2 separate regions of the Homo sapiens genome follow, and region 1 is linked to region 2. Evidence: promoter capture Hi-C in 16 types of primary human blood cells and fetal thymus (Javierre and others, 2016). All regions are on one chromosome and are shown on one strand. Each heading gives the region's core, a stretch centred on a gene start or on the middle of the fragment in contact. The rest is flanking DNA. Distances are from core to core; before and after follow the strand shown. Region 1 has its middle 170 kb from the start of LRP12. Region 2 holds the start of LRP12 (LDL receptor related protein 12).

What was found. The method cuts DNA at HindIII sites, captures the fragments that hold promoters and counts their contacts. A CHiCAGO score of 5 or more calls a contact.
Region 1: a contact is called between a fragment that was not itself captured here and the fragment with the promoter of LRP12 in region 2, in 2 of 17 cell types (M2 macrophages and megakaryocytes). The highest score is 6.1, in M2 macrophages.

What each region holds. Positions count from the first base shown.
Region 1 is chr8:104,760,985-104,763,947 of GRCh38, reverse strand. No RefSeq gene overlaps it. Among named protein-coding and RNA genes, the nearest start is that of LRP12, 170 kb to the right of the region's middle. The HindIII fragment of the contact is 1,665 bases long and covers 872-2,536 here.
Region 2 is chr8:104,587,742-104,590,868 of GRCh38, reverse strand. LRP12 (LDL receptor related protein 12) reads left to right here and starts at 1,611. Exons shown (of 7, transcript NM_013437.5): 1 at 1,611-2,050. The coding sequence starts at 1,972. RefSeq lists silencers at 1,573-1,912, 2,343-2,452. The HindIII fragment of the contact is 14,799 bases long and covers 1-3,127 here.

The sequences.
Region 1 (2,963 bases), core at 455-2,954, 170 kb before region 2:
TTTGCCCAAAGATAAATAGTAAAGAGGGAGGTCACCCACATCGAAAATTCAGCAATGGTGACAGCAGAAACTAGAAGAAAACTAATGTGTATTCTCACAAAAGTCCCAGTAAGGTTTTGTGTTTAGTTGGAGGAAGTAGTCCCCTACATCCCAATGCTGACAGTGTCAGAGGTGTTTCAACCAGAGCAACTCCATCTTGAATAGGAGCTGGGTAATATAAGGCTGAGACCTACTGGGCTGCATTCCCAGATGGTTAAGGCATTCTAAGTCACAGGATGAGATAGGAGGTCAGCACAAAATACAGGTCATAAAGACCTTGCTGATAAAACAGTTTGCAGTAAAGAAGCTGGCCAAAACCCACCAAAACCAAGATGGCCACTAGAGTGACCTCTGGCCTTCCTCACTGCTACACTCCCACTAGCGCCATGACAGTTTATAAATGCCATGGCAACATCAGGAAGTTATCCTATACGGTCTAAAAAGGGGATTCACCTCTTTAGTATATAATTTAAAAAAAAAAAAAACAACATAAAAATGGGCAACCAGCAGCCCTCAAGGCTGCTCTGCCTATGCAGTAGCCATTCTTTCATGCCTTTACTTTCTTAATAAGCTTGTTTTCACTTTACTCCATGGGCTCGCCCTGAATTCTTCCTTGTGCGAGATCCAAGAACCCTCCCTTGGGATCTGGATCCAGACCCCTTTCCTGTAACAAATGTCACGGCAGATGAGTTTGAGAAAACACAATTGAATGTAGTCTCCAGAACATCACCAGCGCCCTCAGAGAAGCACTGGGGGGTGGGAGGGTAGAGTGCGAAGCTAACCTCTGATCCTGCCTGCCCTTATAGAGCCCTGAGAAGTCATCCAGGAAGCTTGAGAACTAGTCTAGAAACAGGAAAACTAAGAATGTTATCCCAAAATTTCACAGTGAATGACAGAATGCCAAGTCTTCTAGGCCTGGAATAAATAAATAAAATGAAGGGGATGTGCTGCCCCTGACACGTGGAGGGCGCAGACCCAAAAGAGAAGTAGATCCTTCAGAGCAAATGTCTACTTCTGATTGAATGATCTGACCCTGTGATTCTCCCACAGGATCTCCAGCTTTCAGCTGCAGTACACCCTCTGCAGTGCCAGGAAACATGACCGTGAGAAAGAAAAATACTTTTTATCTGAGGAATGTGAGCCCCTTTAAATTATCAGGCCCAGAAAGGCATTTGAAATATAACACTAGTCATACCTCACTCGCCCTTGAGCTGATACATACCCCATTTATCCTGATATAATTATTACACATTGTATGCCTGTATCAAAATATCTCATGTATCCCATAAATATATATACCTACTATGTACCCACAAAAATTAAAAATGAAAATAATTGTTTCTTGAAGCCACTTGCAATGTAGGCTCTAGACTAACTGATGCCAAGTAGCCATAAAATGCTGTACACCCTGTACTTCAACAATGTATAGCCAATCATTAACCAGTGTGTCAGAGACGTTTGAACCAGAGTGACTCCATCTTGAATAGGGGCTGGGTAAAATAAGGCTGAGACCTACTGGGTTGCATTCCCAGGAGGTTAAGGCATTCTTAGTCACGGGATGAGATAGGAGGTCAGCACAAGACACAGATCATAAAGACCTTGCTGATAAAACAGGTTGCAGTAAAGAAGCTGGCTAAAACTTACCAAAACCCAAACCAAGATGGCGATGAGAGTGACCTCTGGTGTCCTCACTGTTACACTCCCACAAGCACCATGACAGCTTATAAATGCCATGGCACCATCAGGAAGTTACCCTATATGGTCTAAAAAGGGGAGGCATGAATAATCCACCCCTTGTTTAGTATATAATCAAGAAATAACCATAAAAATGGGCAGCCAGCATCCCTTGGGGATGCTCTGCCTATGGAGTAGCCATTCATTTATTCCTTTACTTTCTTAATAAACTTTATCTCACTTTATAGATTCACCCAGAATTCTTTCTTGTTCAAGATCCAAGAACCTCTCTTGGGGTCTGGATCCAGACCCCTTTCTGGTAACAAATGTTATTTCTGTTAACCAATGAGAATTCCTGACAAACAACTTTTGTAACTGCCCCCTCTCCTGATTCATCCTTTTTTCTTTAAAAACTTGAGCCTCTATTTTGTTCTCTGGACCACTCGCCAAGGCAACTTGGAAGCGTATCCCAGGCTGCAGCCCTTGACCTTGGCCCAAATAAACTCTCTATATTAATTTTGCCTCAGCTTCTTCCTTTTAGGCCAACAACCAAGTATACCTAACTAAATTCAGTGGAGCTTCCTGGAGTGTCAATTAGATTCAGATTTTTAGTGGAGTAGAGGGTAGTATTTGTATATTATAATCCAAGGAAATGGGGTGCATTATGGTACAGAATGCAAAATGTTCATGGTGTTTGAGATAAAGCCCAGGACTTCAAAGTAATTTCAAAATCATGGTGTGCCATTTGGGGCCACACAGGCTCAGACCACAGAAAATATTTTTTTAACTTATCTGCTGTTATATACACTTCCATGAGAAAGCTTGAGTAGCACTATTACTTTACTCCTTATTCACTTCTTGTCAGGTAAAGACATTATTATAAAGTCCATGTCACCTCTACTAGGATTGATATTCAGTTCTACTGCAGACGTTCATTCTCATAGTTAATTGCCTCTGTCATACCAATGATTAAGTATTTTGAATTATTCACCAGATATTCTTATTTTCATATTTGTCTTATTTTCCTGTCCTTTTATCAAAATCTCTTCATCTCTTTTGGAACAGGGGCCGTGTCTAACTTTTCTGGGGCTCCTGAGCAATGTCTGCACCTATATCTTGCATGCAGTAGGCCCTCAATGAATTAAATCGACCCAAACCGAACATTGCAGAAGGCCAATTGTGACCATTGGTTTTAATAAGCTGCATTATGGAAATTTACTATTTTAAAGTACTATATTAAAGCACATTCT
Region 2 (3,127 bases), core at 362-2,861:
TAAAAAAAAAAACTTAAAAGGGGGCAAATCGGCAGGAGACTGAGGAAAAGCCTAAATGTATTCCCCAGAAAGTATGTTTTAAATTTTAACATTTACTTACTGAGAGGTGAGGCCAGCTGAACTTCCTGGGTCCAGTGGGGACTTGAGGAACTTTCCTGTCTTACAAGAGGATTGTAAAATGCACCAATCAGCGCTCTGTAAAATGCACCAATCAGCACTCTGTAAAACGCACCAATCAGCAGGATTCCAAAAGTAGCCAATCGCAGGGAGGATTGAAAGAGGGGCACTCCGATAGGACAGAAATGGAACATGGGAGGGGACCACAAGGGAATAAAAGCTGGCCACCACCAGCCAGCACCTGGGGTTCTCTTCCATGCTGTGGAAGCTGTCCTTTTGCTCTTCGCAATAAACCTTGCTACCGCTCACTCTTTGAGTCCGTGCCATCTTTAAGAGCTGTTAACAGTCACCGGGAAGGTCTGCAGCTTCATTCTTGAAGTCAGGGAGACCACGAACCCCCTGGCAGGCACCAACTCCGACACATTACTAGGCGCTAAGCATTGTGCTAGAGAGTTTGCTGTGGTATAGGGGCAACAATCTTTACTTTGGAATGAGAAAAACTGTTTCAAACAACTTACTTGCCATGAGTAATTTAATTTCTCTCTTTTCTATAAAACATGGGTAATATTTATCTCACAAGGATGTTTGGGATTAAAAAGTGACAACCTATGTCAATAGGACAGCATGATGCAGTGTAGGTCTTCAATGAATAGCATGGAGAGTGCTTGCAAAGGGCAACGATAAAATCTAATATAAATAAGACGTTGTAGACAAACGCTTTAAAAACACAGGGGGTAAGGTCTGATGTGCCAGCGTCACTACAGACGTACTTAGAAAAGTGTTCTGGGGATCTAAGTAAAGGAGGACTCCCATTTGCTGGGAGTGAGAAAAGAGCTTTAGGGAAACTGCAGCGTGATGGGCGAATCCTCCTTTCAATATATCTACCCTGAAAGTCGGCTCCAGCCCTGCCGAACATCCTGGCCCAGCTGCACCCGACCCAGCGTGAGATGTCAAATGACCTCTTGGCGCTTCCACGCCAGACTGGAGGGGCTCTGCACAAGCCTTGCCCGACTCATTCCGGGCACCTTGAGCGTGGGAGTCCACACTGCCCCTTGACCGACCAGCTGCCAGGTTGGCCGCACTAACTTGAGCCCACCCCCACTCGAAGCTCCGCGCCGACAGCAAGTGGAGACTTGGGGGTACCGGATAGAGGAAGGAACTCCCAAGTTGTCAGCTTCAGACCATCCACGCCTCCCCCAACACGGAACCACCTTCAGCCTCCCAGCTGGTATCCCACCCCCCCTCCCCCCACCCGCTGGGCCAGAGCCCAGCCCTCGGACAGCGACCGTGCTCCTCCACACACCCCGCGCTCCAGCCCCTGGGCATCCAGCAGCCGGCGTTCGCACGCTCTGTCATCGATTGGCGCTGCCTTGCTCCTTGGGCTCCCGTCGCGTGGAAATCGGCCCGAAACTTGGAAAGTCCAGCGGAGCGCGGGGAGGGAACCGAGGCAGGCGGGCCAGGGGATTGCCGATCGCACGGATGGGCGCGCGCTCAGTCTGGCGAGTGGCGGCGCCGGCTAGCCCGAGCGGCGCGAGGCCGGAGTCCGGCGTCCGCCACCCTCTCGTCTCGCGCTGGCGCGCGAGCTCCTTGCCCTTGCCCCCAGGAGGGCCGCCCCGCGTGGGGCTCTCGCACCGCCCGGGGTGGGAGCAGGCGAGCCGGAGGGAGGAGGGAGGAGGGAGCGCGCGCGGGCGGCGGCGGCCCCTCCCTTCCCCCTCCCGCAGCCGCGGAGAGCGCAGGGAGCAGCCGGTGGCTCGGCGGCGGCGGCGGCGGCGGCGGCGGCGTCGGCGTCGTCTACCTCCAGCTTCTCCTCCCTCCTCCTCCGTCTCCTCCTCTCTCTCTCCATCTGCTGTGGTTATGGCCTGTCGCTGGAGCACAAAAGAGTCTCCGCGGTGGAGGTCTGCGTTGCTCTTGCTTTTCCTCGCTGGGGTGTACGGTAAGTGTCCGCGTCCCCGCGCCCCGCTGACCGAACAAAGCTGAGGCGACCCGGGCCCCGAGGCCTCCAGGACGGGGGTTCCCCTGGAGACTCCCGCGGAGACCCTGGCTACCGGCGGGACAAAGACCGGTGAGGGGGTGGATGTGGCGGAACGGGTGTCCCCACACGGAGATGCTTTTCTCCACTCGTCCACCTCCAGACCCTCGGGTGGTGGAGAGGGGCTGGGGGGCCCGGCCGGGAGGGCCCCGGCGGAGCGAGGGGGTGGCGGGCGGACTTCCCGACCTGGGTTCGAGGGCCCCCGCGGCCAGTTGCTCCAGGACCCGTAGCCTGGCACAATCCACACACAAAGATGCTTGACTGTGAGAAAGCAGAGGAGCTCGCCCCCGCCGCTGCCGGGACGGTCCTTCCCCCCGCCCCCTCAACCCGGGGTTAGGAAGTTCTCTCACCGGCGAGATTCCCACCGCGCCAGCCCTTGTCCTACTCGATTCCCTGAAAAGGCTTCCCGCTGACTTCTCCCCACTCCACCTCGGGGGCAAGGGCTCTGCCGAATCCGGGCGTGCAGGGTCCTGTTGGTTCCCCGGGAGCAGCACGCGGGAGAAGGCCAGAAAATAGTTTCCAGCCCCACCTCAGTCTCTCCTGTTAGGGTGTACACATCTGTCCTGACTCCTAGTTCAATTGTAATTTCATCCATCCTCGTCCGCCGCTGTGGTCACTGTTACTTTATTCCAGTCGATGGATCGGGTTAGAGATAACTCCTTTCGGGTTAAGAGAAGGCTGAAGACTGTGCGGACAGCTTTATATTGCGTTGGGGTCTGAGCAAGAGCTGAATGGAATTAATTGCAAAGAACATCTATCTCTTAAGATAATTAAGTTACACTTCTGACTTCACCGTTCTTAGTTCATCAGTTAAACACACTGAATAGGTATTTCAGAGAGCTCAGTTTTAACCTTTCCTTTTTGGAGTGTTGCTCTGATTTCTCCAGAAAAAGAATTAGAAGATATCATTACTTTGGTAAATTTTACTTATAAAAAGTCTAATTCATTTGCCACAAACATTGATTTGACTAGTATAATGGT